Linked DNA regions of Homo sapiens: region 2 is linked to region 1. The links are contacts of gene promoters, found by promoter capture Hi-C in human tissues and cell types (Jung and others, 2019). All regions are on one chromosome and are shown on one strand. Each heading gives the region's core, a stretch centred on a gene start or on the middle of the fragment in contact. The rest is flanking DNA. Distances are from core to core; before and after follow the strand shown. Region 1 holds the start of PRR22 (proline rich 22). Region 2 holds the start of MIR6885 (microRNA 6885).

Region 1 (6,494 bases), core at 3,088-5,587:
TTCCAGCTACTTGGGAGGCTGAGGTGGGAGGATCGCTTGAGCCCAGGAGGTCGAGGCTGCAGTAAGCCATGATCACGGCGCTATACTCCAGCCTGGGCAACGTAGCGAGACCCTGTCTCAGAAAGAAAAAAAAAAGCTACTGCTTGGGTCCTTGCAGACATCCACTGTGTGACCCTCACTCCACATTAATCTTCAAGAAAAGTGATCCAGGTCCTTGCCCCACTTCCTCATCAGCCAGGACCTCCCCGACACTTGGGATACCTGGTTTTAGTTTCAGAGATACCCCTAATGAGGCTTCGGGGAGAAGGAGTTGAAAAGCAGCTGAGAAAAGTGGGCTTGGGGCTGGGCGCGGTGGCTCACGCCTGTCATCCCAGCACTTTGGTAGGCTGAGGCGGGCGGATCCCCTGAGGTTAGGAGATCGAGACCAGCCTGACCAACATGGTGAAATCCCGTCTCTACTAAAAATACAATTAACCAGGTGTGGTGGTGCACACCTGTAATCCCAGCTACTCGGGAGGCTGAGGCAGGCAGGAGAGTCACTTGAACTCGGGAGGCGGAGGTTGCAGTGAGCCGAGATCACGCCATTGCACTCCAGCTTGGGCAACAAGAGCGAAACTCTGCCTCAAAAAAACAAAAGTGCACTTGGAGTCTCTCCCAGCCTGTGTCCCCACGGGTCAAACAGTGATGAATGGGGATCACTGCAGATGCCAGGAGGGCACATGGCACAGTCCCTGGGACAGGGGGACCCTGTCTTGAGGGCCACAGCTGCATGGCCCCGAGACACTACCCGGAGTTGTTTTTGTTTTTTGAAATGGAGTCTTGCTCTATTGCCCAGGGTGGAGTGCAGTGATGTGATCTCGGCTCACTACAACCTCTGCCTCCCGGGCTCAAGCAATTCTTGTGCCTTAGTCTCCTGAGTAGCTGGGATTACAGGCGCCTGCCACCATACCCAGATAATTTTTGCATTTTCTTTTTTTTTTTGAGACGGAGTCTCACTCTGTCGCCCAGGCTGGAGTGCAGTGGTGCAATCTTGGCTCACTGCAAGCTCCGCCTCCTGGGTTCACGCCATTCTCCTGCCTCAGCCTCCCGAGTAGCTGGGACTACAGGCACCCGCCACCACACCCAGCTAATTTTTTTGTATTTTTAGTAGAGCTGGGGTTTCATCGTGTTTGCCAGGATGGTCTCAATCTCCTGATCTCGTGATCTGCCTGCCTTGGCCTCCCGAAGTACTGGGATTACAGGCGTGAGAAGCTGCGCCCGGCCAATTTTTGTATTTTCAGTAGAGACAGGGTTTCACCATTTTGGCCAAGCTGGTCTCGAACTCCTGACCTCAAGTGATCTGCCCGCCTCGGCCTCCCAAAGTGCTGAGATTACAGGTGTTTGCCACTGCACCTGGCCTCCTCCTGAGTTTTTTGAATAAGGGTTTCCGGGAGAGTAGCTCCAGAGAGCAGCAGGCACAGTGCCCTACACAGAGCCGGGACCATGGTCTCTGCTCGGCCTCCAAACACCCATCAGCCTCCTGGACTCTAGGTGAGCCTCCCAGGGCCTCCCCAAGCAGAGGCCTTGAAACCCAAACTCCGGAGACCCAGGAGATCCAGCCCGCAGCCTGGGGAAGGGGTAGGCTGAAGGTTCCCATCCCAGAGGGGTGTCCTCATCCCAGGAGGCGCTGGATGGCACTCGACCTCCTGTTTCCTTATGTGTCCCTGGGGGAATGGGGTCAGCCTCTCCAGGGCCACCATGAGCGTTTCAGGGGAGGAGGGTACAGGTGGCCACTGCCTGGACCCCCAGGAGGGCTCTCGAGACCCTGATGTGGGTAAGCAGTGACGGGAACCAGCACCCGGAGGTCGTTCTTCCGAGGCTGGGCCCATCCCATTTTGGAACGAGTAGCCAGGCTGTCCCTGCCACCCCGGACCCCGAAGTGTGGCCGGGTGGGGCCCCTGACCCTCTCCTGGGCTCCAGGTGCTGTCTCCTGTCTCCATCTTGGGTGCACATGCCAGGCCCCCTGGGTGCCGTGTGCTCCCCACCCCTTCACGCGTGGGCACTGTCTCATCCCTGCCCCAGCCCCCACCCTCAGACCATCAGGTGAAGCCCCTGCACCCACCTGTCTGTCTGAACAAGAGCGTGGCCCTTCCCGCCCTGCCTGCAGTGGCTGTGGCTTCCTGGGGACAGGAGGCAGCTGGGTGGGGATCTGGAGGATGCTCCTCAAGCCCTGCCCTGATGGCTGTGTGTCTCCAAGGAAGTTCCTGCTGCTCTGGGCAGCCTTGCTTTCCCCCACCAAACAAAGGGGTGAAAACCCTTAGAACGCGTTGAGTCTGGGGGTCAGCTCCCTCGTGCCCCAGGAGGCCCCTGCCTCTGCCAGAGGAGTCTGATGTTCCAGGGCTGGGACTCAAGGAGTTTAGGGTGTCCTGTGATTCCGGGGCTCCCCTGCTAAGAGGCCTCACTGTGAGGCCGGGGGCGCTGCCTTGCCAGTCCGCGGGATGATGGGGTGAGGGGCCAGGCGTGCATCTCCAGCCCCCTCCCCATCCCCAAGGCCCCCACGTGGACATGGAGCTGAAAGGTCAAATGTGCTTTAATGCGGGGTGGCTCCCAGGTCCTCCCTGGGCCCCGGGGGAGTGGCGCTGGCTGGGCCTGCCGGCTGCCTGGCCTTCCTTCCCGGCTTTCCCTTCTTGGCCGTCGAGGCCTTTCTCTTGCCAGACAGAATGGGGGCCGGGGTGTTGGTGGCAGGGGGCCCCGGGTGGGGCGGCTGCTCCTCGTCGAGCGCCTTGAAGTTGAAGAAGTAGTCAACGTTGGACACGGTGTCCAGGATCTCAGGCACGCTGTAGTCAAAGGACAGCAGCTCCTCGGGCAGGCACAGCGAGCGGATGTCATCGGCTGAGTTCCCACCACTGCTGTCAGGCAGGGCCGGCCCAGGGACCTCGCACAGGGTACCCTCAGGCTCAGAGGCGCCTGGCAGGCAGTCGAAGAGCTTCATGGCGTCCTCCAGCAGAACCTTGTCAGGCAGTGCCAAAGCTCTGGCCGTCTTGGGGGCCTTGGCCTTGCCTGCTCCCAGCAGGGCCCCCTCCTTGACCTCGGCCACCTTGAGCTCGCTGAGGCCCGGTGGGTACAGGGGCACCCCAGGTCGGGCCCCACTGCCCTGCAGCTCCTTGACGGGGAAGGCCAGGGGTTCGGGCCCAGGGAAGTGGCCGAGGTGACCCTGGAGGTGGCTGTAGGCGTCTGGGGGCAGTGTGGGCTCTGCAGGCAGCGTGATGAGTACAGGGGGCGGCTTGTTCTCCTTGGGGGGTGGGGGTGGCAGCGGGGCCGGGCCTTCCTCTAGGGGCGGTAGGGGCAGCTCCACGAAGGCGGCGGGCCCTGCGTCCCCCACAAAACCCAGAGCCTCTGGCCCGGGGCCCTCAGGCGGGAAGTAGGGCAAGAGAAACTGGGGCCCCCCGGGTGCCTGCTGGTAGTGGGGGTATGGAGGCAGCCCCGGGGCCTTGAGGTAGGGCTGAGGCTCCAGGAGGTAGCTGCCTGGGGCGGAGGGGACCCCCGCTGGCCCCCCGCTGCTTGCTGCCAGCTTATACAGGGCTGACTGGCCCAGGTCGGGGGTGGTCCACTCGATCCGATAGATGCGGGGGTCGAAGAAGCACCCGCATGGGGCCATCTGGAAACCTGTGGGCGGCAGGCGGGTGCCCTGAGAGCAGCTGCTGCCTGAGGGGCCCAGCCCAAGCCTGGGGGCCTGTTTGGGAGATGCCACAAGAACCTTGCCATTGGGGGGCCCCTTTGGGGGACGACATAGATATTGCTTTGGGGCCCTGGCTGGGTGATGGATGACACAGAGCTTGTCTTTGGGGCTCATCTGGGGGACCTGTGTGAAGCATGGGGAGCAGAGGCCATGCCTTCAGGCTCCCACTTAGGGACGGGGCAGGGGCAAGATGGGCCTGCACACTCAAACCCACTCCCAGCCTCGTCAAGGGCTCAGGGGAGGCCGGTACCTGCTGGTGGGGCTGGAAACACCTCTTTCTCTGGGTCTGGGGGATGATACAGGTTCAAGGAGCCTGTGGACAAAGGTGCCCAGGTGGGTAGGGCCCTTAGGCGGGTGGGCCCCTGAACCCTCTCCAGCAGGTGCTCCCACCCACCCGATCGTACCCATAGCGGGAGGAGGCTCGGCACAGGTGGGAGCAGGCTGGTTGCCCAGCACCTCAGCCCCCTCCAGACTCTGCGGGCTGAAACCTTCCTGGGGAGCTGCAGGGGCACAGAACGGTTTGGGGTGCTGCATGGGGCAGCGGGGGGCCCGGTCCAGACAGGCCAGGAGGGCGGCAGTGGGAGTGCAAGTGGCCCAACCGGAGAACAGGCTGAGAACCTGGTGGGGTTCTGTTTGCCTGGTTACTCGGGGCAGCGGGTTCCAGCCTGCAGCGCGCCCACTGGTTGGGGTTCTGGGTGTTGGGGGCAAGCAGGGGCAGACGTTGGCAGACATGGTCATCACCATGGGAGGGAGGATTCTGGGCCAGGCCTTTGCCTCTTCCAGCAACACCCCCCTAACAGCTTTGAGGCCGCCTCCTCCAGGCAGGCTGCCCTGATCCACACCCACACAGGCTGAGGCCCCCCGGGTCCTCAACCCGCTACCTTCTTGGGGGTCAAGGCCTCTCTGGGCACCAGCAGCACCCAGCTTGGGGCAGGGCCCATGGAGGCAGCTAAGAGGTTTGGGGAAGGTGGGGGCCGAGGAGGGGCTGCTTCAGGGTCACAGAAAGGCCTGGATTTTAAAAGAATAAAATTTATTGTACTCTCCTCGCCCCAGGGTGCCCCTGGGAAAGCCTGAGGCTACTTGTACGCGTTGGCCTTGTGCTTCGGCAAGAAGGCGAAGCTGGGGGGCACTGGCCCAAGGAGCATCTCGCTGTGGGAGAGCAGGTGGAAAGCGAGGTCAGGCCCAGGACCTGCAAAGTACCCTCCGTGACCCCGGGCCCCCGACTGCAGCTCCCCAACTCCAGCCCACCCAGGCACCTGATGCGGATCCAGTCGGCTGCCTTCTGGCTGGCCATCAGCGTCTCCAGGTAGTCGCGGCCCAGGTAGTAGGGCGGCCGCTCGTTGATCCTCTGTGGGAGCCGCTCCAGCAGCCCCACGGGCACGTACCTGCGGCGGGTGGGCGGGCAGGACAGGCTTGAGTCAGCTCTAACCAGCCGCGGCCCACGCGCCGCCCACCCCAGCCAGCCCCGGTGCCCACCGGCACAGGAAGGACAGCCACTCGAGCAGAAAGCGCCGGGTCTTCTCCACGCCCTGCGTGTCCGAGCCCCAGTGCTCCAGGCCGTAGTTGGTGAAGTCCCGCAGGATGTCCAGGCGCTCGGACGACGAGATGTCCCAGTGCCGCTGCTCCTTGATCTCCGTGAAGAGCCACGGCTTGAGCAGGGCGCCACTGTGGGACGGGTGACGATCAGTGGGCCCAGCCACCAGCCTGCCTGGGATCGTGTGGCCTCTGCTTCCATGGCCTGGCCTGAGCCGGAGCCCAGACCACAAAACCTACAAGCCTAGTAAGCCTCCCAGCTGCATGCACACAACCTTCAAAGCACAGGACTTTCTTTTGTTTTTTCTGAGACGGAGTCTGGCTCTGTCGCCCAGGCTGGGGTGCAGTGGTAAGATCTCGGCTCACTGTTCAACCTCCGTCTCCCAGGTTCAGGCAATTGTCCTGCCTCAGCCTCCCTAGTAGTTGGGATTACAGGCGTGTACCACTACACCTGGCTAATTTTTGTATTTTTAATAGAGATGTTTCACCATGTTGGTCAGGCTAGTCTTGAACCTCCGACCTCAAATGATCGGCGTGCCTTGGCCTCCCAAAGTGCTGGGATTACAGGCGTGAGCCACACACCTGGCCAAAGCCCAGGACTTTCAACCCACAATCATCAGATCCCACAGCAGCAGCAATTTCCAGTCCCCTCTGCCGCAACGCAGCTGCAACTCCTGACATCGCTCTCTGCTCCTCCCATCTTGGGACCAACAGCCCACCACAGAACAGGGGTGGGTGACGGCGTGTTGGGTTCAGGGCACTGCTGCTGTGCATGAAGCTGGATCTCTAACATCCCTGGGCACTTACCGGGCAATCATGATCCCGGTGACACCAGTCTGCATGGCGCGGTTGGCATCCTCAAATGACAAGATGTCCCCATTTCCTGAGGAGACAGAGGCTGGGGTCTCAGGGAGACATGGGCAGGTGGGACCCTGGAGTTCTGCTCACCAGCCCTTCAGGAGTTTTGGCTGACCCAGTGGCTCCCATCAGGGTGGTACGAGGGGGTCCCAAGTGGGAAGGCGAACAGCCCAGAGGTGTGAGTGACCAAGGGTGGTAGGGGAGAGGGAGGTGGCTTCCCGGAACACCCACCGAACAGGGGCATGGGGCTGGCGGCCTGCACGCACTCCTCGATGTACTGCCAGTCGGCTAGCTTGGTGTAGCGCTGCTCCCGAGAGCGGCCGTGGAGCTGGGGGAGAAGCCGCCACGCAGGGTAGGAGGCAGAGAGTGAGACGCAGAGAGGAAG
Region 2 (6,494 bases), core at 3,995-6,494, 600 kb after region 1:
TCGGACGACATCTCCAGGTCGTCCTCCAGGTCGTGGATGCGCAGCTCGCTCGCCTTCCTGCGGCCACGTTTCTCCTTCTCCTCCTCATCCTCGTCCTGGTCCTGATCCTTGAGCCGCCGCTGCTGCATGATGCTGAAGTGGTTCAGCACCTTGTTCCTCCTGCGGGCCAGGCACAGGGGGGCTCATGCCGGGCCTGGCACCACCCTGCATCTGTGCTTGCAGGGGGCGAGCCCCAGGGCACCACCCACATAGCCTTCAAGGTGATGTGGCCCCCGGGGACTTGGGCTGTGGCACAGGACTCCCTGAAACCACACGGATAGAGCCAGCCCTTCCTGCCTTCCCGTTCTGCCCCGAGTCCCTCAAAGAGCAGGTCCCCATGTGCTGCTGGAGTCTCAGCACCTCCCTCGGACTCAGAGTCTGGCCCCAATCCAGTCACACTGGTTTCTTGCTATTTTTTATTATTATTTTTTTATTTTCTGAGACAGAGTATCGCTCTGTCGCCCAGACTGGAGTGCAGTGATGTGATCTCGGCTCACTGCAACCTCCGCCTCCTGGCTTCAAGCAATTCTCCTGACTCAGCCTCCCAGATAGCCGGGGTTCCAGGCGCCTGCCACCACGCCCAGCTAATTTTTTTTTTTTTTTGTATTTTTAGTAGAGACAGGGTTTCACCATGTTGGACAGGCTGGTCTCGAACTCCTGACCTCATGATCCACCTTGGCCTCCCAAAGTGCTGGGATTACAGGTGTGAGCCACCGTGCCCAGCCAGATCTTTTGTTATCTTAATTTATAGATGTATTTTTCTTTAATGACAAAACATACTGTTTCCATTGGAACAATGTAACGTTGTCTCATTGCTCAGGGAAGCTTTAAAAAACAGGACTGCAGGCCAGGTTGGGCGCGGTGGCTCACGCCTGTAATCCCAGCACTTTGGGAGGCCGAGGCAAGTGGATCACCTGAGGTCAGGAGTTTGAGAACAGCCTGAACAACATGGTGAAACCTCATCCCTACAAAAAATTAAAAAATTAGCCGGGCGTGGTGGCATGTGCCTGTAGTCCTGACTACTCAGGAGGCTGAGGGAGGAGAATCAATTGAACCCAGGAGGCAGAGGTTGCAGTAAGCTAAGATTGCCCCACAGCACTCCAGCCTCGGTGACAGAGTAAGAATCTGTCTCCAAAAAAAAAAAAAGGACTGCATTTAATAGGAATGCATCTAACATGGGCAAGGCCCAGGCTGGTGTGAAAGATAATGAAACTGCTGCTTAACACTGTGAGTGGCTTTACCACACTGAGCCATGCACCAAAAAACAGTGACAGTTTGGTGCAGTGGCTCAAGCCTGTCATCCCAGCACTTTGGGAGGGGAGGCCGAGGCTGGAGGCTCGCTTGAACCCAGGAGTTTGAGACCAGCCTGAGCAACATGGCGAGACACCATCACCATTTGTTCTTTTCTTTTCTTTTCTTTTCTTTTGAGTTGGAGTCTTGATCTGTCACCGAGACTGGAGTGCAATGGTGTGATCTCGGCTCACCACAACCTCCACCTCCCGGGTTCAAGCAATTCTCCTGCCTCAGCCTCCCGAGTAGCTGGGATTACAGGTGCCCGCCACCATGCCTGGCTAATTTCTGTATTTTTAGTAGAGATGGCATTTCACCAAATTGGCCAGGCTGGTCTCTTGGCCAGGCTGGTCTCGAACTCTTGACCTTGCGATCCGCTCTCCACGTGCCCAGCCTGAACAGTTCTTAGCTAAGTAGATTTAACATCTGATCAAGAGATGGCATTCTGGCCGGGCACCATGGCTCACACCTGTAATCCCAGCATATTGGGATGCCAAAGCGGGCAGATCACTTGAGGCCAGGAGTTGGAGACCAGCCTGGGCAATATGCTGAAACCCCTTCTCTACTAAAAGTACAAAAATTAGCCAGGTGGGGAGGTGCACGTGTGTAGTCCCAGCTACTCGCAAGGCTGAGGCAGAATCGCTTAAACCCAGGAGGTCGAGGTTGCAATGAGCCAGTGAGCTGAGATGGTACCACTGCACTCCAGCCTGGGTGACAGTGAGACTGTCTCAAAAAAAAAAAAAAAAAAAAAAAAAAAGAGATGGCATTTCTCCTTTGGTTAACATCCAGGTTTTACACAATTCTATAAAATGCCAAATTCTTCTCCCTAAAACTTACAAAGCAGATTCTAAGGAAAATACAGCAAAAGCGAACCTGCCCCCCCAGCAATGATTGATCGACTGATTTTACAGTGGAGCCCCAGGAACTCAACCAAAGTGGAGCAGGCAGGCAGACCTGGGGGCTGTTGTTCCAGGGGAGCAGGGGTACAGAAACTGCCCCACAGGCTCGGAGGCTCATGACCTGGTGGGGAGGACGCTCTGACTTCGTGCCATTTACCGGGGTTGCTTTTGGAGCTGAGCCAACCTATGACTCTTCAGAAATTTTAAAACCAAAGAAAATGATTAAAAACTAAAGCAGGGGCTGGGCATGGTGGCTCACGCCTGTAATCCCAGCACTTTGGGAGGCCGAGGCAGGCAGATCACGAGGTCAGGAGATCGAGACCACGGTGAAACCCCATCTGTACCAAAAAAATAGAAAAAAATTAGCCGGGCATGGTGGCAGGCGCCTGTAGTCCCAGCTACCCAGGAGGCTGAGGCCAGAGAATGGCATGAACCCGGGAGGCGGAGCTTGCAGTGAGCTGAGATCGCGCCACTGCACTCCAGCCTGGGTGACAGAGCGAGATTCGGTCTCAAAAAAACAAAACAACAAAACTAAAACAGGCCGGGCGTGGTGGCTCACGGATGTAATCCCCACACTTAGGGAGGCTGAGGGGGGCAGATCACCTGAGGTTAGGAGTTTGAGACCACCTGGCCAACATGGTGAAACCCTGTCTCTACAAAAAATACAAAGTTAGCCAGGCGTGGTGGTGCATGCCTGTAATCCCATTTCTCTACTTGGGAGGCTGAGGCAGGAGAATTGCTTGAACCTAGGAGTCGGAGGTTGCAGTGAGCTGAGATTGCGCCACTGCAGTCCAGCCTGGGCAACAAGAGCGAAACTCAGTTCAAAAAAAAACACACAAACAAACAAACAAACAAAAAAACACCAAAGAGGGAAAAAGGTGTTTTATTTGTTTTGTTTTGAGACGGAGTCTCGCTCTGTCGCCCAGGCTGGAGTGCACTGGCAACATCTAGGATCACTGCAAGCTCCGCCTCCCAGTTCACGCCATTCTCCTGCCTCAGCCTCCCGAGTACTGGGACTACAGGCGCCCGCCACCATGCCCGGCTAATTTTTTGTATTTTTAGTAGAGACGGGGTTTCACCGTGTTAGCCAGGATGGTCTCGATCTCCTGACCTCGTGATCCGCCTGCCTTGGCCTCCCAATGTGCTGGGATTACAGGCGTGAGCCACCACACCCAGCCGAAAAAGGTGTTTTTTTAACCTTTGGGAGCCATCGACTCTTTGAGCATCTGCTCATCTGTGACCTGTGCAAATGCCATTTGTAGATGCGTCCAGAGTGCCCTCCCCACCATCTGCAAGCACCCTAGGGTGGTGGTGGCCCTACGGTCTCATCCAAAGCCATACATCCAAGACCAAGTGCTCTGGGCCCCCAGCCTCGTCCCCCTGCCCACAGTCACTCTGCACTGGCCTCATGCACTGTGTCCCTCCACAGCCCTTAACTGCACCCGCCCCACCTCTGAGGCCGATGTCACTGCTAGAGAAACCCTCCTCGGGTGCCCTGCCTGGAGCTGCTGCCCTGCAGTGGATCAGGCTGTGTGACCTGCAGCCTGCGGAAAGCCAAGGGGGCAGTTAGACCCCACCCTGCTCTGCCAATTTGAGCTCCGGGTCACAGACTCTGGCTCTGGCAGCACCCTCTGGGGTGCCCCATTGTGGCCCTAAGGCCTCCTATCTGTTTCCTCCTGAACTGACAGCTCTGAGACGGCCGAGTGGGGTCTGCCCTGGTTACCCCTGAGTCCCCAGCTCCCAGCACAGGGCCTGGTGATATATCCATGGCAAGGCACCCCATTTCCCTCACTTCTGTCCCCAGCCACCACCCAGCCCACTCACCTCTCCCACTCCTCCTCGGCCTCCTCGGCAGTGAGCGTGCGATGCCGGGCCAGCGGTGTGAAATTGTACCAGTTGTGCACGGGGAAGGCCTCGAAGGCCCCGTCGGGGCACTGGGTGAAGATGTAGTAGGACGTGTTCTCTGTTACGCCTCCCTTCTTGATGCCCTTGAACCTGCAGGGAGCCACGGTCATGGCCTGGCCCATAGGGACCAGCCCCAGCCCCCCCGTGTCCCCCCGGGGCCTGCCTCCTTTATGGCACTTGCCATAGGAGGAAGACCAAGAAATGCCCATGAGGCCTGGGCAGGCCCTTCAACCACCTGGGCCTCGTCAATTTCCACATCTGGGGAACAGGGCCGGCGCACCTACCCTGCAAAGTGCTGGGCGTGTGCACATCGGGATCATTTCTGGAAAGACTGTGTGAGATTATCTCAGGAGAGCCCAACCCTGCAGTCAAACTGTCTACATTTGCCTCCAGCTCTGCTATCTGTGGGCCACACCCGGGAAACTGAGGAGCCAAGTGAGAAGATGGGGCGGGAAGGCATGGCCAAATTTTTTTTTTTGAGATGGAGTCTCGCTCTGGCACCCAGGCTGGAGTGCAGTGGCACCATCTCAGCTCACTGCAACCTCCACCTCCCGGGTTCAAGCAATTCTCATGCCTCAGCCTCCCGAGTAGCTGGGATTACAGGTGTCTGCCACCACACCCAGCTAATTTTTGTAGTTTTAGTAGAGACAGGGTTTCACCATGTTGGCCAGGCTAGTTTCGAACCCCTGACCCCACGTAATCCGCCCGCCTCTGCCTCCCAAAGGGCTAGGATTACAGGCGTGAGCCACCGCGCCCAGCCATGGCATGGCCAAATCTGAAGTGGACACCTGGCCCGGGCCACCATTTCCTCAAGCCTAAACAACTGCCCAGCCTCCTTGAGGCCTCTACCTCATTCTTTTCTACCCCAAAGTTCCGGACAGTCTGGGTGAGTGCCTCTTCCCTGCCTACAGCTTTCCAAGGCTCCGCTGGACCCAGCACATCCTGGCACCCACTGCCCTGTGTGAGCTGCCTGTGTCTGTCACTATCACCCAACTGCTGTGCCTGGAGCACCCTTCATCAACCTAACCTGGACCCCTCCTGTTCTGCCCTCAGTCTGCCCCCTCTGAGAGGTCATCTCAAGTGTCATGAGCTCCCAGGGCTGGCCACCTAAGCTTCCTGCATTGTGGCACTCAGAGCTGCCTCAGAGCCAGGCACAAGCACCAACTCAGTGAACTGTCTTCAAAAACACAACCCCAGGGCCTGGGCAGTGGCTCATACCTATAATCCCAGCACTTTGGGAGACCAAGGTAGGAGGATCACTTGACCCCAGGAGTTCAAGACCAGCTTGAGCAACGCAGCAAGACCCCATCTCTACCAAAAATACAAAAATTAGCCAGGCATGGTGGGGCGTGCCTATAGTCCCAGCTACTCAGGATGCTGAGGTGGGAAGATCTCGAGCCCAGGAGTTGGAGCCTGCAGTGAGCTACGATCGCACCACTGCACTCCAGCCTGGGCAACGGAGTGAGACCCTGTCTCAAAATAAATAAGTAGGCTGGGCACGGTGGCTCACGCCTGTAATCCCAGCACTACGGGAGGCCGAGGCGGGAGGATCGCCAAGTTCGAGACCAGCCTGACCAATATGGTGAAACCCTGTCTCTACTAAAAATACAAAAATTAGCTGGGCGTGGTGGTGGCAGGCACCTGTAATCCCAGCTACTCAGGAGGCTCAGGCAGGAGAATAACTTGAACCTGGGAGGTGTGGGTTGCAGTGAGCCAAGATCGTGCTACTGCACTCCAGCCTGGGCGACAGAGCAAGACTCTGTCTCAAAAAAATACAAGTAAGTAAAATAAGATAACATAAATAAATAAATAAATAAATAAATAATAAAATCCTACAGGGATGGAAGTGCCAGCACTTCCACTGCAGCAGTGGGAATCTGAGGTTCAGAGAGGGTACCCCACAAAGTATGTAAGTTGAGGCCTGGGGATGTGGACTGGTCACTAAGCCGGCACCGCCACCGCCCCACCACTTACTTCCTGCCTGATTTGCCGTTGACCCGGAGCAGCCAGGGCTGGTCCTCGGGCCGGAACTCCTTGAGGACGATGCCGTACTTCTTCCTCCGAGCCTCCTCCCGAAGCTTGCGGTTGAACTCACTGCCCGCGCCCGATTCGGGCATCTCCTCCTCTTGGTAGATTTTCTTGTTGCTCAAGTCCCGCTCCAGCCGAGCCTAGGGGAGCAGGAAGCAAAGCCTCTCAGGGTCCCTGGCTTTGCTTGCGCAGTGCCCCCCTCCAGGAACGCCCTTCCTTGCCCTAGGCCAAGCTCTAGATTCTCAAAACCAACTTACCACTTGGCAACAAGGGAGGAGAACGGTAGCCTTTGACAAATCTGGGTAAAGGGAATTTGGGCGAGCCTTGCGCTCT

The links. The method cuts DNA at HindIII sites, captures the fragments that hold promoters and counts their contacts. A contact is called where the count stands out against the background at its distance.
Region 2: a fragment that was not itself captured here is called in contact with the fragment with the promoter of PRR22 in region 1 in 1 of the 25 tissues and cell types used here (dorsolateral prefrontal cortex).

The regions. Positions count from the first base shown.
Region 1 is chr19:5,780,409-5,786,902 of GRCh38, forward strand. It overlaps PRR22 (proline rich 22), which reads right to left and starts at 4,338. Exons shown (of 3, transcript NM_001134316.2): 1 at 4,123-4,338; 2 at 3,969-4,031; 3 at 2,552-3,645. The coding sequence starts at 4,252. The coding sequence ends at 2,570. It overlaps DUS3L (dihydrouridine synthase 3 like), which reads right to left. Exons shown (of 13, transcript NM_020175.3): 9 at 6,341-6,437; 10 at 6,059-6,134; 11 at 5,195-5,383; 12 at 4,975-5,103; 13 at 4,732-4,867. The coding sequence ends at 4,795. RefSeq lists a silencer at 324-502. The HindIII fragment of the contact is 36,623 bases long and covers 1-6,494 here.
Region 2 is chr19:6,383,337-6,389,830 of GRCh38, forward strand. It overlaps GTF2F1 (general transcription factor IIF subunit 1), which reads right to left. Exons shown (of 13, transcript NM_002096.3): 4 at 6,108-6,301; 5 at 4,053-4,223; 6 at 1-159. It overlaps MIR6885 (microRNA 6885), which reads right to left and starts at 6,367; the gene lies at 6,302-6,367. RefSeq lists an enhancer at 3,696-4,196. The HindIII fragment of the contact is 4,380 bases long and covers 3,055-6,494 here.